Linked DNA regions of Homo sapiens: regions 1 and 3 are each linked to region 2. Evidence: promoter capture Hi-C in 16 types of primary human blood cells and fetal thymus (Javierre and others, 2016). All regions are on one chromosome and are shown on one strand. Each heading gives the region's core, a stretch centred on a gene start or on the middle of the fragment in contact. The rest is flanking DNA. Distances are from core to core; before and after follow the strand shown.

Region 1 (4,443 bases), core at 1,078-3,577, 380 kb before region 2:
CAGAGATTCTCCAGGGTCCTCGGATCAAAGGACTGAAAAAAATGGCACTTAAGAGTCCCAGGACACCACAAGCTAGAGAACCTGTAGATGGCGTCAGGACCAATGAGGGAATGGAACACCCTCCACTTCCCTGTGTGGGTTCCCTAAGTGCTTCTGCAGCCAGGAGTGCCTGAGGGGAAAGGCAGACATTACAAACATGTCACAGGATTTGATAAGCTCAGGACTCCCTGAACCCTTTCTTGTCCCTGGAACCAGGTAACCCTAAGGCTGGTTGTCTGACCTGCTTTTCTCAGTGCAAAATGTCATCTCTACCATCTATGTGATCTACAAAACGGATTCAACCTCCCAAGGCCCCAAAGTCCTCATCCTCTCTCTCTATGATGTTCTTCCTTTGATTGGCCTTTGGGAAACTTCTTAAAAGCCTGGATTTGGATCATGTCCCTCCTTTCTTCAAAACTCTCCATGGCTTCTAGAATCCTCATGATGAATGCACAGCCCCTGGCCTGCTTGCTCTACCAGGAAGAGCTCCATCTCACACGTTGTTCCTGACAGATGCCTGTGAACCCCAGGTTCCATCCTTCCAGCTCTGTCCATCTGCAGGCCATTGCCTGCACCCCTACCTGTGCCTGTCACTCTCCCCACTGCATCCCACTGGTGTCAGAAACAGGTGAAACCGACTTTGCAAAATTATAACTGACGAAATTATGACAGTGAAAGAAATCAGACCTAACCGACTCCATCTTGCTTCCAACCTTTCAGCCGTCTTTTTTCATTCCTGGGCATAGGCTGAATTAACTTTGGAAAAGAATTCAGTTCATGGTTTCACTCTGAAACAAAATTGATAATAGCCCTTTCCTGAAAAGACCCCTTTCTTGCCTGGGGACCAGCCTGTCTTTGCAGGACTAACAAATTAGCTACAAGAATAGAAATTACGGTTTAGGGGTCATGCAGCTTCTGGCTCCAAGAGTCTGAACCTCCCCAAGTTGCTCCTGAAGATAACCTTACTATTGTAAAACCTAATGTGAGTTTCTGGGGTGCTAGTTGAGTTGGTCTCCCCTGTGTGAGACACCCATGGGAAGCCATGGGCGGCCTCTGAGGAGAAAAGTCTCCTTATTGCCTTCATGTCTTTATGCCCCGAGAGCATAACTCTTCAGCAGCATTCCATGGGTTGCTCAGGGAGATCACACTCCCTTGAAGCAGTGGAGCATAATCAAACATCTTGGCTCCTCCTGAAACCCGCAGCCACCCGTTTCAGTTAAGTTAAAGATCTTAAGTAGTTTAGACACACGCCTTTGTTCAAGGAAATTCACAGAAACGGCCAGTGCTTTACATCTTATGGAATGACTCACGAGTTCTCCTTTACTGATTAATCCTTTTCCTGATCGCTTCCTCCCCCTCCAATCAGCCATAAGAACAAAGAGCTTGTAAACCAATAAACTGGGTGGAGCCCAAGAGCTCTGGGCCGCCAGGAAGCCTCCAATGCTCTGGCCACCTGGACCCGCCTTTTAAATGCGTATTCTGTCTCTTTCTAACTCCTTTGTCTCCGCAGGACTCGGGGTATCTGCTGGGTGGTGTGGGGCTGGTTTCCCCAATATCTAAGATCAGTGCTTGGGGCATTTTGCAGATCCTGCACTGGATGGATCAGCGGACAACACACAGACCGGTAATCTGGGTCAATCAGTTCTGCCATCCCACCCAGAACAGAAAACAGCATGAAAAACTCACTTTAACCCCCTATGAATCCATCTCCAACCAGACTGATCAGCACTCCCCACTTCCCAAGCCCCTACCCGCCAAATTTTGAAAACTCTGATCCCAGAATGCTCAGGGAGACTGATTTGAATAATAAAACTCCTGTCTCCCGAACAGCAGGACGGCTCTGCGTGAATTACTATTTCTCCATCGCAATTCCCCAGTCTTCATAAATCGGCTCTGTCTAGGCAGCTGGCAACGTGAACCCACTGGACGGTTACAAGGAGAGGCCTCCTGTGAGCGCCTCAGTGTTCCTACGCCGGGTACCGGCTACAGACCCACGAGCAGGAGCCGCTCCCTCGCTGGTTTAGGACCTGGGTGACGATGGGGTGACCTGAGGGCACAGAAGGCACCACAATTACCTGAGTTGGGCGCCTCGGCACAGCCGCTGCCATCGGACTACTTGGGGAAGCACGGCCCGGGAGCAGTGGTCGCCGTCACGGGGCTGCAGAGCCGCCTCTGGGCACCGAGGACGATTCCTCTCCACCTTCTAGGTTCAGTCACCGCGGTCCCACCCAGCACTCAGGGGCCACAAACTGGGGAAACACCCGCATCGCCGATACACAGCCGCTACTAGAGACCCCGGAAGTCTCGGCCTTACGTTACGTGCACACGTGGAAATGCCTTCTTTCCGAGTGCTCACTGGCTCTGACCGGCTGTCGTTTAAAGCAGAGCTTTCTGGGTAATGTAGTTCCCCACTTTCCATGACACAACATGGTTACCAGGTTCTGAAATGTTCATGGCTCAGATGCACCTCCAAGCCTTTGTACCTATTGGTTCCTCTACCTGTATTACTCTAGCTGGGGTGAAGCCTGTAATACACAGCATTTACCTGAGCTAGGTCCCTCAGTGTGGCTGCTGCCATCAACTGTGGGTGGAGCAGGCATCACCCCAGCCAGTGCCTATGAGCCTCAGACCTGCCACTTGGGAGCAGAGATGACTACTCCTCTTGTGCCTTCTCAGTCCCAACCCAGTACTCCCTGGCCTGACAAGCATGCCCAGAAATCCCTCATCCTGGGCCTTGCAACTAGCGCCTTCTGGGTAAAGTACTTCCCAGAGCTCTCAGCCAACAATGGTGGTATCCTCCAAGAGCAAACCGAATGCAGACCATGTTACATTCTGAGGGCTGCTGGAAAGCCCTGCTCACACCTCAAAGGAGGAAGATTATTGATTCTTTGTAAAAGCATCAAATAGGTATCACATCAGACTCTAGGAAGCTCATCCTGCACCCAGAGAATAAAAATACTATTTGAGATGCTCCCAAACTTTACTTATCTAAGTGGCCATATCATTGGCATCATTCAGACTTACAATGTGTGCACTCAGAGCTGAGAACATTAAGTATTGATTGCTCTTTAAATTCACGTAGACTGAATCATTACAGTCAGTTTTGCGAGTTTCATTGTTTTGTTGGGAACAAAAGAAAATTCTCCATAAGACATGATGACAGGATGGGTACAAAAAACAGTGAGCAAAAATGAATAAGACCTAATATTTGCTACCATAACAGGGTGGCTATAGTCAAAATAATTTAATTATATATTTAAAAATAACTAAAAGAGTATAACTGGACTGTTTATAATACAGAGGATAAATGTTGAGGTGACTGAGACCCCATTTACCCTATGTGATTATCACATATGGCATGGCTACATCAAAATATCTAATGTAATCTACAAATATATACACTACTATATACCCACAAAAAATAAAAATAAAGGCCAGACATGGTGGCTCACACCTGTAATCCCAGCACTTTGGGAGGCCAAGGCAGGTGGATCACCTGAGGTCGGGAGTTCGAGACCAGCCTGGCCAACATGGAGAAACCGTGTCTCTACTGAAAGTACAAAATTTTCCAGGCATGGTGCTGCATGCCTCCAATTCCAGCTACTCGGGAGGCTGAGGTAGGAGAATTACTTGAACCCTGGAGGTGGAGGTTGCGATGAGTCGAGATCATGCCATTGCACTCCAGCCTGGGCAACAGGAGTGAGACTCTGTCTCAAAAAAAATAAAAAATAAAAAATAAATAAATTGCTGGGTGCAGTGGCTCATGCCTATAATCCCAACACTTTGGGAGGCTGAGTCAGGTGGATCATGAGGTCAGGAGTTCGAGACCAGCCTGACCAATATGGTGAAACCCCATCTCTAATAAAAATAAAAAAATTAGCCGGGCACGGTTGCTCACGCCTGTAATCCCAGCACTTTGGGAGGCCGAGGTGGACAGATCATGAAGTCAGGAGATCAAGACCATCCTGGCTAACACAGCAAAACCCATGTTAAAAAAATTGCTGGGCATGGTGGCAGACACCTGTAGTCCCAGCTACTCGGGAGGCTGAGGCAGGAGAATCGCCTGAACTCTGGAGGCAGAGGTTGCAATGAGCTGAGATCGCATGACTGCACTCCAGCCTGGCGACAGAGCTAGACTCCGTCTCAAAAAAATAAAATAATAATAAAGATCTAATGACAGGGAAATAGACGGATGTTGGTACACCCTGAAGCAGGTAGTGAAGCTGGCAGTTGGCCACTGGTTCCCACAGAAAATTGCTCTAGTGATGCTAGCAAATCCCAAAATTGGGGCTCAATCCAGGAGGGTTCCTGGCTTCATAAAGGAAATAATTCAAGAGCAAGCCAAGAGTGTAAAGTGAAGGCAAAGCAAGTTTATGAGAGCAAGAGAACAGGAAAATGGCTGCT
Region 2 (4,834 bases), core at 731-3,230:
CAGGTGAACTTTGAGGACGTGTTCGTGTACTTCTCCCAGGAGGAGTGGGTGCTCCTTGATGAGGCTCAGAGGCTCCTGTACCGTGATGTGATGCTGGAGAACTTTGCACTTATGGCCTCTCTGGGTAAGGCCGTCACATCCACCCCAGTGACTTGGACTGGGTCCTGCCCTTCCCCTTTTTTTCAGGGCATCTTTGTCCTTCCTACATCAGAGCCGTGGACACTGTCTCATTTCTTAGTGCCTGGAGTAGGTTCTGTGAGTGCTGGGCTTGGGCTGTTTGCACTCCTACTTTCTCCTTTTGAGCATTCCCAGCGCTTGCTGTCTCAGAGCCTTGCAGGCATGGATTCAGGAGTTATGCATTGTATTGTCAGCCCAGTGGGTCATATCCATCTTGTCCTTTCCCTGTCTGAATTCCTCTGTCTGTATCCATGACACCTCTGTGCCTGGGATTCTGCGCTCTTCCTTTAGCTGACATTTCCTGTGGCCTGCCTATGTCAGGAATTGTAGGGACCATTATGGTCGCTACTTGCTAGGACCACTGCACTATTCCTGCAAGACCTTACTCTGAGATTATTTTAATAATATTTAGTTTTCTATATGGGTTACCCAGACCAGTGCTGTTCTATCTTTCCCTTAGGACATACATCTTTCATGTCCCACATAGTTGCCTCACTGGTGATGGGTAGTGAGCCCTGGGTACCTGACTGGGTGGACATGACCCTAGCTGTTGCCACAGAGACTCCAGGTGGGAGTGACCCTGGTGAGTAGGAGCTGGGGAAAGGTGTGATGTCAGGGCTGGGTTCATATCATTCCATAGCCTCTTTGTGCCTACAGTTGTATTAGTGCTAAGGCCACTGGCCTTTCATACTCTGGCCTTTGGCCTCTGGATGTTCCATACCTCTGCCTTCATGTCTCACCTGTTCCTCTCCATGGCTTGTTCTACAGTGCCTTCCAGCATTGGCCTGTACTTAGTGTTTCATGAGATGTGTAGCCCAAATAGTCCTTAAACACCAACTACTGAGTAGCAATTTGATTTTCTTTGGTATGGACCATAACCTTCTGCACAACTCTCACCTGTCCCCAGCAGCCAAGAAAATCTGATTGTGAATGACTTTGAGACCTGCCTCTTTTTTGTGCTGTACCCCACATCTTTGTCCTCTCCCAGTTGAGGCCTTCTCCATTCTATGACATTTAGATGCCAACTACCGTATAGTACACATTTGCTGAACTTGAGTTTGGACCCTTGTCCTAACAACAGTCCTATGACCTTGGTCTTAGTTGTGTTAGACACATATTTGTAGTGAGGCTTCCCCTCTTCCACCTGTGTCAATTTGTACTTCACCAGCATTTCTCTGCTTTCAGGTTGTTGGCATGGAATGGAGGATGAAGAGATACCTTTTGAGCAGAGCTTTTCTATAGGAATGTCACAGATCAGGATTCCCAAGGGAGGTCCTTCTACTCAGAAGGCTTACCCCTGTGGGACATGTGGCCTGGTCTTAAAAGACATTTTGCACTTGGCTGAGCACCAGGAAACACACCCAGGGCAGAAACCATACATGTGTGTGCTGTGTGGGAAACAGTTCTGCTTCAGTGCAAACCTTCACCAGCACCAGAAGCAGCACAGTGGAGAGAAACCCTTTAGAAGTGATAAGAGCAGGCCCTTTCTTCTGAACAACTGTGCTGTGCAATCAATGGAGATGTCTTTTGTGACAGGGGAGGCTTGTAAGGACTTCCTAGCCAGCTCAAGCATTTTCGAGCACCATGCCCCTCACAATGAGTGGAAGCCACACAGCAACACCAAGTGTGAGGAGGCCTCTCACTGTGGAAAAAGGCATTACAAATGCAGTGAATGTGGGAAAACCTTCAGCCGCAAAGACTCACTTGTTCAACACCAGAGAGTCCACACTGGAGAAAGGCCTTATGAGTGCGGTGAATGTGGGAAAACCTTTAGCCGCAAACCCATACTTGCTCAGCACCAGAGAATCCACACTGGAGAAATGCCTTATGAGTGTGGCATATGTGGGAAAGTTTTTAATCATAGCTCTAACCTTATTGTACATCAAAGAGTACACACTGGAGCAAGGCCTTACAAGTGCAGTGAATGTGGGAAAGCCTATAGTCACAAATCTACACTTGTTCAGCATGAGAGTATCCATACTGGAGAAAGGCCATATGAGTGCAGCGAATGTGGAAAATACTTTGGTCACAAATACAGACTCATTAAACATTGGAGTGTTCATACTGGAGCAAGGCCTTATGAGTGCATCGCATGTGGGAAGTTCTTTAGCCAAAGCTCTGACCTTATTGCACATCAAAGAGTTCATAATGGTGAAAAGCCTTATGTGTGCAGTGAATGTGGAAAAGCCTTTAGCCACAAACATGTACTTGTTCAGCATCATAGAATTCACACTGGAGAAAGGCCATATAAGTGCAGTGAATGTGGGAAGGCCTTCAGGCAGAGGGCTTCCCTCATCCGCCACTGGAAAATTCACACTGGAGAAAGGCCTTAGGATGGGAGATAATTCCGTTTCCTTGTTCAACATAATAACTGACATCAGAGAGAAGCTCCAAGCATAGCCTTTATGTGTAGCCGACAGCCAGAAGTAGAACTTTATACACTCAAACACTCACCCTGGGGAGGTTCTTCCGAGTGCCAGCTATATGGGAAGCCTTCTGGAGCTATGCTGAATTTTCTAGACTCTTGCTGGAATTTCGTCAAGGCAGTGCCTGTTAGAAGCCATCTGTCTTTGTGCTGGAAGAGTCCTGCCTTGTGCCAAAGTAACCCCAATGTGTTTCAAAAGACAGACCTCTGTACTATTCCCTTCCCTGGAGGGAATCATCAGTAGCCTGAGGCCATCAAGGATTCTCACTTTTTTTCTGCCCCACTACTGGTTTAAGCATGAGCATGACCCAGTTTTAGCCAGAAAAATGGGAGCTTTGTTCTGCTGACCACTGGCAGAGGTTTCCCTTCATGGATATAGTTGATCTCACATGGCACTTGGGACGAATTTTTCTAGCCTTCAAGACACCTGACCTGAAATTGGCTGCCTCATATTCTGGTTTTGCAACAAATGCCTTAATTTTTAGACTATCTGAAATCTTGAGGATTCTGTTCGCTTTGTGGGTTGGGTTGAGAACAGAATTGAGCTAAGCCAGTATGAAGGGAAGAACAGCTTTTGTGAGAGCTCCAACTATCTGTATCTCTGAAGTGATAGTAGGATGGCAAAGACTAGCTCTTATGCTAGTGTCAAGCTAACTTACTTGACTGCTTCAGCTCTCCTAGGAAAGAATGCCAGTCTTTGTAGGCCTAATCTTTTGGTCTATATGTTAAGATTTTTTGTGTAATTGAGGTCACCCTAAGCAGTGGGCATTTGTTGTGATAATCTCTAATGTGTCTGGGAGCAACATGAATTACGTCCCTTGTTCCCAGAAGATACTTCATATTCCCAAGGCTTCTTGAGGAGAATTTGAACTCAGTGGACATGTCAAGATCTCTGAAGTCTATTTTTCAGTAGGCAGTTGATATTGGCTGTCCTCCAGAAGGCCCAGGTAGGAATCATAGTTGGTGCAGAAACCCAGATTAATAAAGGAATGAGAAAACTGCAGCAAACTATAGGGAATATGACCCTTCTAAAGGTACATCCACATGTGTTTCCATTACTCTGGCTCCATTATGAGGGTTTACAGAAATATTTCCATACCTGTGTCTCTTATGGCTAAGGTTACTGTCCAGAAGTCAGTCTAAACATTTTTGCAATAAACTGCACATATTTATAGTGTACCATTTGATAAGTTTTGATACATGTTGGCACTTCTCAAACCAAAAGTTTCCTGATTCCTTTTATATTTTCTCCCTTTCCTTCACCCATCCCCAGGCAACTATTGATCCGTTGTCACTGTAGATTTGTTTGTATTTCCTAGAATTCTACAGAGATAGAGTAATTTAATATGTATTCTAATGTTTTTGGCTTCTTAAACTCTGAAATTAAGGCTCATGGTGGTGTTCTGTGTTTCATAGTTCATTTCTTTTCATTTGTACTTTGCTAAGAGTGTTCCATTGTAGAGAAATAGTTTCAAAGCAAGTGATCCAGGAGAGAACTCACACAAGAACAAAGCCACAGTATCTGTCATTACCTTAAACTGAAAGTGATGAGCCGTCATTTCTGCTATATTTCATAAGTAACCCTAGCTAATCCTGGTTAAAAGTGGAAGAGAACTACACAAAGGTGAAAATAGGGATTTGTGGGGCGTTTTCTTGGACTCTGGTGACCATAATCCTATATGGTTTTTTTCTTTTTCTGTTTTAGTTGTTTAATATGAATTACATTGACTGATTTTTTTAAATGTTAAGCCAACCTTGCATTTCTGTAATAATTCCCATTTGGTCATGATGTATTAGTCATTTAGTATATTGTTGAATTTGATTTGCTATTTTGTTTTGTTTTGTTTTGTTTTTTTGTAACAAGTTTTGCACCAATGTTCACGAGTGATATTTGTCCCTAACTTTCTTTCTTGCTTGCTTGCTTTTTTTTCTTTGTAATTTTATATCTTGCCCAGGTTTGGCTTTGGTATCAGCATAATGCCAGCTTTATAGAGTAAGTTGGGAAGTATTCCTGCTCTTCAGCTCTCTGGAAGAGTTTGTGAATAATTGGTATTATTTCTTCCTTAAATGTTTGGTAGAATTCACCAAGGAAGCTGTCTGGGCCTGGAGTTTGTTTTGTAGGAAAGTTTCTAACTATAAGTTTGATTTCTGTGGTAGATAGAGGGCTGTACAAGTTATATGTACATCTGTCTGTGTGTGTGTTGTCTGTCTGTCACTCTGGCCCTGAAGTGT
Region 3 (4,551 bases), core at 845-3,344, 500 kb before region 2:
GATCAGAAGACTTGGGTGGCTTCTCTCCAGTTCATAAGTATTTCTAAAACTGGGGGCCAAGGATCCTTCCTGGATAGGCTTCAAGGGTATTGAGTGGAACTTGGGCTCATAAAGCTCATCTAATTTTTAAAGGGCCCATGGCTTCCCAGTGGTTGAGAAATGATGGCCTAGTGATGTCATTGGGAGGCTGTTATTTTCACCTTCTGACTCTTCTAGCTTGGGCTCACTTAGGTGTGTAACATTTGATTGTAGTCCTTTCAAGGCCTGACACATTAGTGGTCACCTGATAAATGTGGCAGGGGCAAGTTAGTTATTGATGGATTTTTTTTTTACATGATTTGTGCAAAGGCCCTTGGAGAGAATGAAGTTAGCAGTATTATCTCATCTTGGAGAAAGCAGCATAATATATCCAGAATCATACTACCAGTAGGATGTGGATATTGTATTCTAATAGCCAGAGTGAATCCAAATTATCTGATTTAGAGATTCCAAAGGATTTCATAAGTCATATGCAATATACCACAAGCATCCTGGTAACTTATAACCTTATTACTAAGATTATTATCTTGAAAAAATTTCTAGGCCGGGCACCGAGGCTCATGCCAGCATTTTGGGAGGGACAGGAGGATTGCTTGAGCTGAGGAGTTCAAGGCCAGCCTTGCAACGTAGCAAGATCCCATCTCTGTTTAAACAGATAAGAGTTTTTTTAATGTCTTAAAGGGCCTCCTGGCAGGGCACAGTGGCTCACTCCTGTCACCCCAGCACTTTGGGAGGCCAAGGTGGGTGAATCATGAGATCAGGAGTTCGAGACTGGCCTGGCCGCCAACATGGTGAAAGCCCATCTCTACTAAAAATACAAAAATTAGCTGGGTGTGGTGGCAGATGCCTGTAATCCCAGCGGTTCCAGAGGCTGAGGCAGGAGAATCGTTTGAACCCAGGAGGTGGAGGTTGCAGTGAGCCAAGATTGTGCCACTGCACTCCAGTGTGGGTGACAGGGCAAGACTCCATCTCAAAAAAAAAAAAAAAAAAAAAAAAGGGCCTCCTGTTGGTCAGGTCACATCACGAGTCAAAAGAAAGTCCCAGACTTCTGCTTCTTCCTGGAAGTATTCCCTTCCTCTCACCTATCATGCACAGCCTGGACAGTATTGATTTCAGTGGTCCCTAACATCCAGCACTCCCAGGTCCCCTCTGTCTCCCTCATACATGACATAGTTCATTGCCTTTTTTGAGCCCGTCTTCTATTCCTCCCATCTCTGAAGCCTAGGGCCCACTTTCAGTCATCAGGAGTCCCCCTTTACCTTCCTGCTGTGGGTCTCCCCTGTGCACATTGCCTCCCTTCTAAGGGTGACTGCTTTCCTTCCACTTTCTTTTCTTTCTTTCTTTGTGCAGTGGTACGATTTTGGCTCACTGCTACCTCTGCCTTCTGGGCTCAAGTGATCTTCCTGCCTCAGCCTCCCGAGTATCTGGGACTACAGGTACACGCCACCATGCCTGGCTAGTTTTTGTTTTTGTGTTTGTTGTTTTATTTTTTTGAGACAGAGTCTTGCTCTGTCGCCCAGGCTGGAGTGCAGTGGCATGATCTCAGCTCACTGCAACCTCCACCTCCTGGGTTCAAGTGATTCTCATGCCTCAGCCTCCCAAGTAGCTTGAACTACAGGTGTGCACCACCACGCCCAGCAAATTTTTGTATTTTTAGTAGAGATGGGCTTTCACTGTGTTGGCCAGGCTGGTCTTGAACTCCTGGCCTCAAGCGATCTGCCCACCTTGACCTCCTAAAGTGTTGGGATCATAGGCGTGAGCCACCGTGCCCATTCCTTTTTTCCTGAACATTTTCCAAGTGAGGTTGTTGGAAATCACGGATGGGGAACTATGCATGCGGAGGGCTGACTGTAATTGATTTCTTTCTGCCTCCTCACTAATCTGCACACTGCAGGCAGGGACCTGGTCTCATCATGCCTGCACCTCCAAGCACTGCCCTCTTACACTGTAGTCTCCCCATTGGTCAGCATGGTTCCATGAAGGAACTCCATTATCACAGCAAGGACTGACCTCACACTGGTGGCTCCAAGTCACTGCCCAAACATTCTGAAGGGAGTAGAACTTCTTGATTCCTCAGATAAATAGAGGACAGATGCTGGACTGTAGCTAAGTATTTCCTTTCATCTACGGGATAAAATACTGATAATTTGAGAGTGATGGACAAGGTTCAGAGTGGTTTCCTCATTTTGTTTTTGTTTTTAATGGAATGCCAACTTCATTTATGCTTGCCGTATGCAGATGGACTCCATCCCACTGGAAACATAACAGGCTTACCAGGTAGCTTCAACCACTGGTTTTATGTGACTCAGGGAGAATTGAAAAGCTGTTTCAGGGGAGATAAAAAGAAGGTAATTACATTTCACCGCAAAAAGTTTTCTTTTCAAGGCAGTAAACGGTCACAACCACCCAGAAACATCACCAAAGAGCCCAAAGTGTTCTTTCATAAAACCCAGTTGCCTGGGATTCAAGGGGCTGCCTCGAGATCCACGGGTGAGTCATTGAATTCCTCATTCAGTGGAGTGAGAATCGTAGCCTGGAGTCCTCTTATCTGCCATGTGAATGTGTACTGTGTGCTTGCTGGTAGAAAGGTCCATAAAATAGAGTATAATTAGATAAACATTTGCTTGGAAATTAGATCTTATGCTCTTCACTCTCTGTTAACTGCTTTCTCTTTAGGGATTGCCACTTTCTTCTCTTTTTCATTTCACTTTAATAAGCGCACACAAAAACCTTGATCCCATCCAGATTACACAGGTATGCCTGTCTGACTTGAATTTGGTGCACATTTGGCAGTAGAGCATGCAAGTCTAGACACAGAAGGTTTGTGAGTGTACAGAATTCTTTTTTTTCTTTTTTTTTTTTTTGAGACAGAGTCTTGCTCTGTCGCCCAGGCTGGAGTGCAGTGGCGCGATCTCGGCTCACTGCAAGCTCCACCTCCTGGGTTCACACCATTCTCCTGCCTCAGCCTCCCAAGTAGCTGGGACTACAGGCACCCGCCACCACGCCAAGCTAATTTTTTGTATTTTTAGTAGAGACAGGGTTTCACTGTGTTAGCCAGGATGGTCTTGATCTCCTGACCTCATGATCCGCCCGCCTCGGCCTCTCAAAGTGCTGGGATTACAGGCATGAGCCACCATGCCCAGCCGAGAATTCTTTATAAGCATTTTCTATGGTTCCCTTCTAATTTGAGTACTAGAGGATGTTTGTTTATCTTATAACAGCAAAACCAACCCCGACAATCTTTGAAGCTCAGCAACCCTTTGTGGAGATATATGATGCTTGTAAATAATCTCCATTCCATGCAAGGGAAATGCTGTCTGTGTGATACATTTGCATGTAATTTGTGTCCGAGGAAAGGACACTATTGTTGGTTCCCTGGCCTCTCTGCCTGGCTCTCTGATCCTTTTTTTTTTTTTTTTTTTTTTTTTTTTTTTTTTTTTTTTGAGACGGAGTCTCACTCTGTCACCCAGCTGGAGTGCAGTGGCGCAATCTCGGCTCACCACAACCTCCACCGCCGGGTTCAAGCAATTCTCCTGCCTCAGCCTCCTGAGTAGCTGGGACTACAGGCGCGTGCCACCATGCCCAGCTAATTTTTGTATTTTCAGTAGAGACGGGGTTTCACCATGTTGGTCAGGCTGGTCTCGAACTCCTGACCTCGTGATCTGCCTTCCTCGCTGGGATTACAGGCATGAGCCACTGTGCCCAACCCTTGCTGACCTTCTAATGAGGTCGTAGCCCCTTCAACTCTAAGTCTCTCCAGGTCCTTAATTTGGGCAGAGATTTCCCAACTTGTATGACTGCAAAAGGAGACCAGAAACCAAAAGTATCCTGTTCCTAAAGGTCATTCTTCATGACAGGAAGCACCAGGTGCAAAAAGAACAGCAGGCTCACCAGGCTTCTGCAAATTAACCCACACATTGCTGCCAGGCATTGGGAGGAATGTATTAACACATCCCATCTTAGATATTTGGAAGCTGTGTGTTCGGCGTCCTTCTCTAATGCTAAGTTATTTCCTTGTTTTCCCAAGTTCATCTTAAACCATCTTAAAGTCTCTTCTTTTTGATCCCCTTTGATGGCCTTTTAGCTGCATCCCCTACGAACCCCATGAAATTCCTGAGGAATAAAGGTAAGCCAAGGGATCTGGGAGGGCGGGTGGACCCGCAACATTCCTGAAGCTGTCGTGATGTGTGGCTCCAGAGGGTGCTGGCTGGTCACCAAGGAGCCTGCACACGTGGTGCCTTCATGTGTGTTAGACAAGGTGCCCCCTCTGGAGGGGGATGCGCAGTGACACCGCTTGGGGCAGGTGAGAAGGTGGCTCAACTCCACGGGCTGATGTTGTAGTGAGTAGAGCACAGGCTGTGTCTGAGATCTCTTTGTGGAACACACAAAATGCATGGGCACACACAGCGGCCCTGTCAGCAGCCTTTCTAGCAACTCTCCCCACTGTGGCTTGTCCTGGAACCTCCTCAACACCTCTCGCTTCAGAGTCCTCCAAAGCAGAAGGCACCTTGT

Evidence for each region. The method cuts DNA at HindIII sites, captures the fragments that hold promoters and counts their contacts. A CHiCAGO score of 5 or more calls a contact.
Region 1: the fragment with the promoter of ZNF587 here is called in contact with a fragment that was not itself captured in region 2 in 3 of 17 cell types (naive CD4 T cells, non-activated CD4 T cells and total CD8 T cells); the score reaches 6.9 in naive CD4 T cells.
Region 3: the fragment with the promoter of C19orf18 here is called in contact with a fragment that was not itself captured in region 2 in 3 of 17 cell types (M2 macrophages, fetal thymus and erythroblasts); the score reaches 6.7 in M2 macrophages.

Annotation. Positions count from the first base shown.
Region 1 is chr19:57,847,743-57,852,185 of GRCh38, reverse strand. It overlaps ZNF587 (zinc finger protein 587), which reads right to left and starts at 2,327. Exons shown (of 3, transcript NM_032828.4): 1 at 2,115-2,327. The coding sequence starts at 2,147. LOC124904782 (a long non-coding RNA gene) reads left to right here. Exons shown (of 2, transcript XR_007067358.1): 2 at 1,625-1,871. RefSeq lists enhancers at 686-1,885, 1,940-2,029, 2,080-2,319, 2,490-2,549, 2,620-2,729. The HindIII fragment of the contact is 27,837 bases long and covers 1-4,443 here.
Region 2 is chr19:57,470,950-57,475,783 of GRCh38, reverse strand. It overlaps ZNF772 (zinc finger protein 772), which reads left to right. Exons shown (of 4, transcript NM_001144068.2): 3 at 1-124; 4 at 1,363-4,834. The coding sequence ends at 2,510. Among named protein-coding and RNA genes, the nearest start is that of ZNF772, 4.2 kb to the left of the region's middle. The HindIII fragment of the contact is 6,834 bases long and covers 1-4,834 here.
Region 3 is chr19:57,972,077-57,976,627 of GRCh38, reverse strand. It overlaps C19orf18 (chromosome 19 open reading frame 18), which reads left to right and starts at 2,094. Exons shown (of 6, transcript NM_152474.5): 1 at 2,094-2,316; 2 at 2,425-2,529; 3 at 4,124-4,165. The coding sequence starts at 2,196. The HindIII fragment of the contact is 7,599 bases long and covers 1-4,551 here.